Regions from separate parts of the Homo sapiens genome. Here region 2 is linked to region 1. The links are contacts of gene promoters, found by promoter capture Hi-C in human tissues and cell types (Jung and others, 2019). All regions are on one chromosome and are shown on one strand. The core of a region is centred on a gene start or on the middle of the fragment in contact, and the rest is flanking DNA. Distances in the headings are between cores, read along the strand shown. Region 1 overlaps LINC02503 (long intergenic non-protein coding RNA 2503). Region 2 holds the start of PPA2 (inorganic pyrophosphatase 2).

The links. Contacts are between HindIII fragments. The study calls those that stand out against the background at their distance.
Region 2: the fragment with the promoter of PPA2 here is called in contact with a fragment that was not itself captured in region 1 in 1 of the 25 tissues and cell types used here (lymphoblastoid cells).

What each region holds. Positions count from the first base shown.
Region 1 is chr4:104,014,435-104,019,539 of GRCh38, reverse strand. The region is part of intron 5 of LINC02503 (long intergenic non-protein coding RNA 2503); the gene reads right to left. Among named protein-coding and RNA genes, the nearest start is that of LINC02503, 55 kb to the right of the region's middle. The HindIII fragment of the contact is 5,615 bases long and covers 1-5,105 here.
Region 2 is chr4:105,470,207-105,475,311 of GRCh38, reverse strand. It overlaps PPA2 (inorganic pyrophosphatase 2), which reads left to right and starts at 1,250. Exons shown (of 12, transcript NM_176869.3): 1 at 1,250-1,418. The coding sequence starts at 1,262. RefSeq lists a silencer at 1,060-1,269 and enhancers at 1,490-1,609, 1,900-2,069. The HindIII fragment of the contact is 4,779 bases long and covers 1-2,557 here.

The DNA of each region.
Region 1 (5,105 bases), core at 1,558-4,057:
TATTTTTTTTAAGAAAACCTGTGCTCACACCACCCTTTCATGTATATAATTCCCCTTCACCCATGATTTTTTAAAAAACAAGTCATCCCCCCAAAATTGTGTAAAATCCAGTTTAAAACCCATAACATCCATGAATCCATCTAAATAACATTATTCCTTACTTCTTTTTCTCCTTTAACACTCCCTATCTATCCATCTCTATCAATCACTGTTTGAAAATTCATATTGTTGCTCCCCAATTAAATGAAAGTTTTTAGATACTGCTAATTAAAATGACTTATTATGATTTTAATTGAGATGTAACTATATACCAAGCACTTAGTCAAGCGGTTGATATTTACTATCTCATTTACTTTTTATGACATCCATTTGTAGTAAGCATTAGGCCCATTTTAAACGCAGAAAATTGGGCATTAGAGAAAGTTTCTTGACTAAAGTCACCTAGCTGGTAAACAATACAGCCAGGATATATTTCTTTTTTCCCTTTCTTGCTTACCATTTTGTAACGTAATATCTATTTAATTACATATGTTGTTATTTGCCACTACAATGTAAATTGTTAAGGGCAGAGATTTTAATCTGTTTTTGTTCATCATTTTGTCTCAAATAATGCTTACCTCTAATAATATCTCTGTCCCTGAATCAACCAACCAATCAATAAGAAAAGGGCACAACATGAAATTTACAATCTAAATATCCTTTTTATATAAAAAAAGAAATGATTCGAATCATGATTTTATTGTTACTTAGCAGAGTTCAAATTCCAGGTGTTGCTTACTGCATGCTTTTTTGAATTATTTTTAAAATCAGAAAATTTAGATAAAATAATGATACATTGTGAAGAATATAAATAAATTCCTTTGTTGATAGTAAGGAATGTAGCATAAATTTGTTAATTACCCAAAATATAAGCAAAATCTTGAAAGCAACAATCATCTATGCATTAAGAATATAAAAGTGTTAACATTTTTCTGTTTACCGATACTAATATCCAAAGTCTCTTGGGCACATTTGAGAAACTTCCTAAAAACATTTTTAAAGTAAATAAGCTTGTGCAGACATCTTTTATTTTTTACACACTGAAAGTATTGGATAAGGGAGATAGAACTCTGAAGTTGAGTTATAACTTTCATGTTATCCTTAAAAATCAACTTTACAGCACCAAACATCCTTCCAGAATCTTCTGAGATTGTCTCCCATCCCCTGCTTATTTATTTATTTCCTTTTATTTGTAGTTGACAAGTAATAATTGTACATATTTAAGGGGTACAGAGTGACATTTCCGTCCATGTATACAAAGTGTAATGATCAAATCTGGCTAATTAGCATATCTACCACCGTGAATATTTATGATTTCTTTTTGTTGTGAACATTCAAAATCCTCCCTTCTAGCTTTTTGAAAGTCCATACTAAATTAGTGTGAACCATATCCATCCTACAGTGCTGCAGAACAATATAACTTACTCCATCCATCTAACCCTAACTTTGTATTAGCTAACCAACCCCTCTTTAGCCTCTCCTCTTTCCCACCCTTCGCAGCCTCTAATAACCAGAACTTTACTCTCCATTTCTATGAGCTCAATTTTTTTTAGCCTCCACATATGAGGGAGAACCTGTGGTATTTATCTTTCTATGCCTGGCATATTTCACTCATAAATGTCCTCCAGGCTCATCCGTGTTGTTGTGAATGACAGGATGTCATTCCTTTTTATTGCTAAATAGTATTCCATTGGGTACATATACCACATTTTTATTATTGATATATCCACTGATGGATATTTAGGTTGATGCCATATTTAGGCTATTGTGAATTTTCTAGGATTTTGAACTCTCTATTGAAAGATCTAGGTTTTTAAATTTATGTTTAAACATTATTATTTTTAACTACAAATATATATTTATGTCAGTAAATCAGTTGTGGTATGTATTTAGTGAGGGTATACTCTTTTCCTGAGGGTTTTATTTTTAAAATATGGATTAAAACTGACACAATCATAAATCTTAAATACCACATTCATGTTTCACAAAAAATAATTTTCCAATGATTTGCTTAACAAAAGACAAAACAATATTGTAAACTGTCAAAGAAGAAAGCAATCACAGTTCCACTGGGAGACAAAAGTGTCTTTCTTCTCTAAATACTGAAGCAATATCTGTACAATATCAAATGCATTTAAAAGGCTAATCAGACAGTTGCCATGATGGGAACAGAAGAGCCTACTTTTCTTCTTTCAAAATCCTGGGTAAGCCACAAATGAAAGGAAATGGAGTATCAGGGATAAAAATGGTTAAAATGCCTTTTTATAGCCTTTCCATTTTCTTTTGAAAAACATTTTAGGATGTAATAGTTAGTATTCCTAAAAGGACTTAAAATACTTATTAATTATAATAAATAAACCAAGCACCATGAACCCAGTTCCTAATTTTCAGAGTGCACAAGCATAGCATTGTTGATGCTATTTCTGGAATTTCTTTCTATTTTCATTTCAATTTTTTGTGATGACATCTTAGGATGGGGGACAGATCACTGATTTCCCTCAAGAAGAATCTTTATTTACTGGGTAACTTTTGCAACAAGTAATACATCAAAAAGAGGGAGCTATGTGTTTCAAGATACAAACAGGTATGATGGAGCAAGTTTTCGATAAATAACTGGCTAGATTATTTTAATTTCTGAACAGCCTAAGATTAAGATGCCCTATCATTATGCCACATTTCATTGTTCTTTCCTAATGGTTTACCTTAGAAAAGGTGCTCAAAATAAAATTGATGCAGTCCATAAATATTAAATGAATTATTTCCATATGCCAGGCACTGTTGCAGGTGGTCAATATGTAAACAGTAATAAATGAGACAGATGTAGCCCCATTCTTATAGTGCTGACATTTAAATAGCACACAACAATTGAATATTTAATGCCCCTAAAGAGGTAGACAAGATTCAAAAGAAAGTAAATAATGGAATGATATATTTTTACATTAGTAGAGTTAATAAAGTAGAATATCAAAAAGAGTATACTTAATTAAATTAATTAATAATTCCTCCCTCCACCTCTTGCTCTTTCTCTTATTTTTTACATATTATCTCTTTCATATTTACTCATAAATAATGAATTTGGTATGTATTACAAATGAAAAAATGCTTTTCCCTTACAGTTAAGTTATAAATTTGTAAATAACCTCAGAAACATGAGCAAATTTGTTACAGGTAAAATGAGTGAACATCACAGTTCTTTTCACTGAATTTCAGAAAAATTTATAAAGTCATCTATATGTGAACAATATTTTAAATGACTTGTAAGGACTGTCTAGAGGAACATAAAGAGTCTCATTTACTCATAGATGCTGATGAATCAATTTATCCCCAAGGCAATGATATTAGTATGTCACCTCTATAGATCGTCCTAGATGATTTGGCATATATTAAAAAAAAAGTGTACTCTTTCCTTATTGATTAGGAATTGATTCCTTATTGAATAGGCTATGTTAAAATTAGCATATCTAATCAATTATTTAATCCAATGAAAAATAATGGGAAATATACTAAAATGTTGTCTCTGCTAAAAATAAAAAAAAAATCAAGAGGAAAGTTATTTCTCACCAACTGCTTTTCTTTATAAAGAATAGTTCCAATACTTAGTGAATGATGGAAGAATTAGGCCATCTGCTGGCAAGTGGCAAACAGGCAACCTTTACACATCCAAACTCAACTAAAGCCACCTCAATGGTACTTAAGGGACTGAGGGAGTTGATTAGAAAAGGGAAGCATTATTTTTCCTTGTCCACATTAATTGGTAATCTTTCACGTTTAATATTTTCAATCGCAGTGATTTAACTTCATAACTTTAAACACTTTTAATAGTGGTAAGGGGCTACAACAGTAGGTAGTTATAACTCTATGGCATGCATCATTTATTTATTCACCAATATTGATTGATAGTCTGCTATGTATAAAGAAGGTTGTAAACATTAGGGACAGAGCAATATACACGACACCTTTCTTACTCTCACAGAACTAATATTTTAGATAGTCAGTTGTTTAATTAACATGCTAAATCTTAATTTTTTGAAGAGTGGAGTAGGCCAGGCGCGGTGGCTCACGCCTGTAATCCCAGCACTTTGGGAGGCCGAGACGAGCGGATCACGACGTCAGGAGATCGAGACCATCCTGGCTAACATGGTGTAAACCTCGTCTCCACTAAAAATACAAAAAAATTAGCCAGGCGTGGTGGCGGGCGCCTGTAGTCCCAGCTACTCCGGAGGCTGAGGCAGAAAATGGTGTGAACCCAGGAGGTGGAGCTTGCAGTGAGCCGATATCGCGCCACTGCACTCCAGCCTGGGTTACAGAGAAAGACTCCATCTCAAAAAAAAAAAAAAAAAAAAAAATAGTGGAGTAAACTGAGCTATATAGTTTCATAGTTTATACTAGATTCTACTTTTTTTCAATTTGGTTTCTAGAGAGAAAAACAATAATTCTTGAATCTCTGTTCTGGAAAATACTAGCTCATCATTTTGTCAGCCAATGTCAACCAAATTGAATAAATGGTGCTAAAATGCACTTCTGAGGATTCTTGGCCCTTATACATTTGACTGACTCTAATTCCAGTGATCTTCTCAAATTGTAGTAATCCATGGAAATGATAAATCTCCGTTAGCAGGGATTTTTTTTTTAAGTAGGCTTTCCTTGAAGCAATAACAAATGACTCTCCCTTCAATATGAAGGACAGAACAAGCATTCCAGCCTTGAGGATGTTTGCATCGGGTCATCCTAAATATAATGCATTGATGTTACTGCTGAAGCTTCTGCTAATACTACTGAACCTGTTATCCAGGAAAATTAAGGACTTCAATTTTCCAAGAACTTCAATTTGGCACCATTCCCAGGATTTTACTTGCACACACATACCACCACCCTTGCAGGTTCATTTCTAGTTCGTAAAACTCTGCGAAAGTAACAAATTATCTAATTAATATCCAAATTGCCTAATTAATACCCGAATCACCCAGTTAATATCAATTCTGAAACAGTTTTATTTCGTTTCTGTCAACATCTTTCTTCATGTAATTCTTTACGGTCTACTCCCTATTCCCATTTTTCTCTATAGA
Region 2 (5,105 bases), core at 1-2,500, 1.5 Mb before region 1:
TTATGGGAGCATTTGCCTTATAGTTATGCCTATTCAAGTTGACACATTACAAAGGTACCACTGTTGACAAAAACATTTTAGGATCTATAATCTTAGTAGAGTGTCTCTAAGTAGCTAGTCACAATATCTCCTAGGAATCCTTTCTGGAACTTGGGTAGACCAGTATCTCAATTTTAATGATCACACGATAATTGGAGATGCTGAAAGAACCTGGGTGCCCAGTAGGAAAGTAGCCTAGATGATGATAGTCCCAAAGAAGATGGACTAGAAAAAAATAAAATGACACGTGGCAGACTACTGGTTGTTCTACAATATCCATTCTCCTGGATACTGGCCCAAACCATCCTCCTATCTCAGCCTCCCAAGTAGCTGGAACTACAGGCGTGTGTGCCACCCCGCCTGGCCGATGCGCGGTGGCTCACGCCTGTAATCCCAGGACTTTGGGAGGCCAACGCAGGCGGATCAATGGAGGTCGGGAGTTCGAGACCAGTCTGACCAACATGGGGAAACTGTCTCTACTAAAAATACAAAAATTAGCTAGGCGTCGTGACGCATGCCTGTAATCCCAGTTACTCAGGAGGCTAAGGCAGGAGAATAGCTTGAACCCAGGAGGCGGAGGTTGCAGTGAGCCGAGATTGTACCATTGCATTCCAGCCCAGGCAACAGTGTGAGACTCCGTCTCAAAAACAAAACAACAACAAAAAATAATAAAATAAAAGAAAGAATAAATAATCTCTACTGGGTTAGGAAATGGCCTTATGGAGAAGATGGCATTTGAGTAAGCTACTTAGGGTTTTTTGCTCTGTAAGTCGGTGTCAACGTCCCGTTTTCACGTGGTGGCCTGATCATTTTGTCTTATAGTGATGTCTTTGCGTGCATGTGCGCTCATCTCCTATATTGGACAGGGTCTAGAGCAGTTCCTGGCACAGAGTAATCACTCAATATTACATCACTATACTAAAAAATCATGATAGTAATTCTTGACGGGATAAATGAAGGCATGAATAAATGTATGAATTAACGAGTGGCAGTGAGCTCTTCAGGGGTGGTGGGTCTTGTCTCACTCGTCTTTGAGCTGCGGCCTCGCTGAGGGCATAGTGCGCACAACTGGCTGGTGTTCCAGATTCCACTGGCAGGGACCAGGATCGCAGCCCGAGCGCCGGGGCGGGAGGGATGACTCCGGACGGTAGGGGGCACCGGCGTGCGGCCCGGCCGAGCCCCCAGGTAGCTCCGCGCGCACAGCAGGACCGTCATTGACGCCATGAGCGCGCTGCTGCGGCTGCTGCGCACGGGTGCCCCAGCCGCTGCGTGCCTGCGGTTGGGGACCAGTGCAGGGACCGGGTCGCGCCGTGCTATGGCCCTGTACCACACTGAGGAGCGCGGCCAGCCCTGCTCGCAGAATTACCGCCTCTTCTTTAGTAAGTAGCTCCCGGAGGTTCGCCGAGCGGCGCACCGGAGAAACCTGGGTGGGGGATGGAATGGGGGACACTTGGGACGCCCCGCGCGGTCTCCCTTCTCTCTTTTTGGGGCCCTCAGCGGTAGCCGCGCGGTCCAGGCCACCTTACTTCCCGCGGGAGCGCGCACCGAGTCACGAGAACTGCCAGCGAGGAGGCGGCGGATCAAGACCCCAAAGCGGAGAGCAGAGGCGCAGGGCTGCCGGCTGGGGGGTAGATAGCGCCCTGTGCCCTGCCAGCCGCCCTCCCCGAGGGGTAGGCAGAGTGCAAGCGGCCACCCCGCGGCGGCCTGCAGCCATTAGCCGGCCCGGCCGCCGTTCCCGGTTCACACAACTCAGTGAGGAAGGGAAGGCAGAGCCCGCCCACACGCCGGCCTTCCTAGAGGCGTAAGAAACCTCCTACTGCGGGAGCTCCCTGACGTCGGAGAGGCAGGCGGAACTTTGCGGATGCCTAATCCAGCGCGTCTTCTTTTTTTGGAGGGACTCTGATGAAGGTTCTTTCCCCAGAAGCTTGACTTGGTACGCACAAGTTTACACCCTGAGTGTGATCCACCATCCAAAGCCTCGTTGGTTCCGGAGCAGCCCCTTTTCCTCCCCAAGCTGAACAAGCCCAGAAGGCTAAGCGACTTCGGGGGGGTCCCTGAGTTGCCGAGCTCAGAGAAAGGACCCAGGTCTTCGTGACTCATTGTTCCGTGTACCCCATTGTTTCACTGTGTACGTTAACCGTAACAGAAAATAGCGATGTCGGTCGCTTGCCTTCACTCCCCACTGACTGCAGAGCCTTGGAGTGGTAGTATCAAAGTGGGCCTTGCATTATCGCTCCCCTTTTCGGAGCACTGGCTCTGGAGGCTTTCAGTTCTAAGCAGGCCCTCGAGTTCTTCACGTCTTAACTCTGTGACCCCGGACGAGTTTAAGTTGCTAAGCCTTGTTTTTTCTCATCCGTAAAATAGGGCTGCAAGTATTACATGACATTATATATGTAAACTGATTAGTCACAGGGCCTAAAATATAAATTACTATTGTTAATACCGATAATCATTATAGATATTTGTAATTTATGAGAGATTTGCAGTTATGCTACATGAGTTTAGGGTCGAGGATTATTTTGTGGGAAAGAAGAGTTTGCCTAAAGTCGTGTGATTATAATGCAACTAGTACTAGAATTTCTATTTTCTTCAAAATTGGTTGCAGTTTTCACCCTATGCCACATATTTTCTTCTATCTTTGGTTAAGACTGATCAGGTGAACAGGAAGTCTCAAATTTCTGAATGGATTATGTTCTAAAAGGTTACCATGTGATGATTAATGGGAATAGTCAGAAAAAATTATGAAGTGGCAGTTCGCTTTTTAAGCAGATTGAAAAAAGGCCTGTCTACTGCAAGTATTCTAGATTTGCAATAAGTACGGTAATTAATAGATACCCAAATAATAAATATTTATGAAGTGTGCTAGACACTGTTAGGCATAGTACAGAGATTCACAATATTACTATAATTATGGAAAAAGTAAATACACTGGTTGAGCAAAAACAGGCTTGAGAAGCCAGGAGCGCACAGAGTAGTTGACCCAGTACCGGATTTGGAATGGGGAGTCCTAGGCCATAATCTTGGCTCTGCCGTTAACTCGCTGTGTGCTGTTGGGTGGGTGGTTACTTCAGTTCTTTCTCACAGAGCCAGTTTCTTCAGCTGTAAAATGAAGCTTTTGACCTTGAAACGATGATCCTCAAGGTCCTTCTCAGCACTGGTATTCCCTGAAGGCATTGGATGAATAACGGAGATTCTAACAGTCTCTGTTAAGACAGGATGTCGAATGGGGGCATTTTTGGGAGTATGTTGGCCTCTTATTGTTGGTTTGTTTCTTTAGCTGCAAATGTACTTAGGACTCATGATTTTTCTGTAACTAGAGTGCCACAAATAAAATACGTTTTTCATTCAGTTGGATAAACAGGGCAGGAAAGAAGAAAACCCGATTTTACTAAGGTAAATGGGCAAAAACTGGAAGAAAGGGGAGTGTGGTTTTGGAGAGGGTCCCGATGGTAAGATCCTGATTGGAAGGTGTGTTGGTTAAACAATTTCTGAACTAACCGCCAGATGGCATCACTGGCCAGGACTGTTTACTACCTGCTAGAAGGGGTAGGGCAAAGTGAAACGAAGCCACTCTAGGGCGAATGGGGTAAGGGGAAAGCAACGAATAAATTGCCCTTTATAAAGATGATCACAGATTGGATATTTATTACTCAGTGTGTCTGTATGCAGTACTAGGGTGGACTAATGTCTCACTTCAAAAAAAATATGAGTGTAGTATACTTGGCCTAAAATTGTTACTCAGTGTTACTAAAGTGTAATCATTTTCCACATCTCCAAATATATTCCAAGTCTCTGAAATACTAGTGCATTGGGAGGTAGAACATTTTCGAGCTTCATGTCTGTAAATGGTTTCTCTTTACTGTCATTCAGTAAAATCAGAATAAATGATTGATGTAATACTTAAAAAAAAATTGGTGTTAAACTTTGTAGAAAGAGTGAGACAGGATGATTAGGGGAAAGGGTATCCTGATGGGAATCATCAGGCCTCCTTGGTGCCAGCCCTGACCCTGTTAGTATCTTGCTGTCACTTCACCTCCCTGCATCTCATTTTTTAAAACCATGGAATGAGGAGATTGGACCAGATGATCATTTTCCAGACTGCTTAGTTGAACACAAGCATCCCATGGTATATTATTAGGTTTTCGTTAAAACAGAGGGTTTCATGGTTTAATAAATTAGAACACTTCCCATTTTATTACTTTTTTGAAGAAGAATTTGCCTATTTAAGTTCTGGAAAATTCGGATGTAACTTCTCCAAAAACTGAACCACAGAGTACTTATTTCTCAGAACATTTGTTAACATCTTAGTGACATCAGGGTTATGATTTCTGCAACTTCCAGAAGCAACTGTGCTGTAACAGTTCTAAACTAATAGTCAAACCACTTAAGTTGTAGTCCTGACTTTACCGTCTTGGACAAGTCACTCGACTGAATTAACCAGAGGCATCCCTTACCTTCAGATGACATCCGGTAGCTCAGTTTCTCCGTAAATAAAATGGGGATAGCACTAGTAATTTTATAGAATTGCTGTGGCAGTTAAATGAGACTATGTGTGTAATTATCAGTGTCTCACACGTGATAGGTATTTAATAAATGTTATTTATTTTTCCCTTTTGACTTTAAGACATTAGACTAAAATCCTTATTATTAGATTCTGTGAAGGGAGAAAATAAGGTGATGTGATTGATTATTTTGAAGTGTTCCTGTTAATTTATAGGTTTCAGAAGGTTTTTTGTTGTTGTTGTTTATTCATTTTATTTTTATTTTTTTGGTTTGTTTGTTTGTTTAGAGATGGGGTCTCATACTTTTGCCCAAGCTGGAGCACAGTGTGCAATCACGACTCACAGCAGCCTTGACTTCCCCAGCTCAAGCGATCCTCTCACCTCTGTCTCCTGGGTAGCTGGGACTACAGGCATGCACCACTGTGCCCGGCTTCCTAGGTCTTAAAGTTTTAATGGGTACTTGCAGTCTTTTAAATTAACTGTGAAATCATAATGAAGTTAGACTCACTTATATTGAGCCAAAGACCTAATGCTGCATGCCAGTATTCCTTTGATATCTTGCGT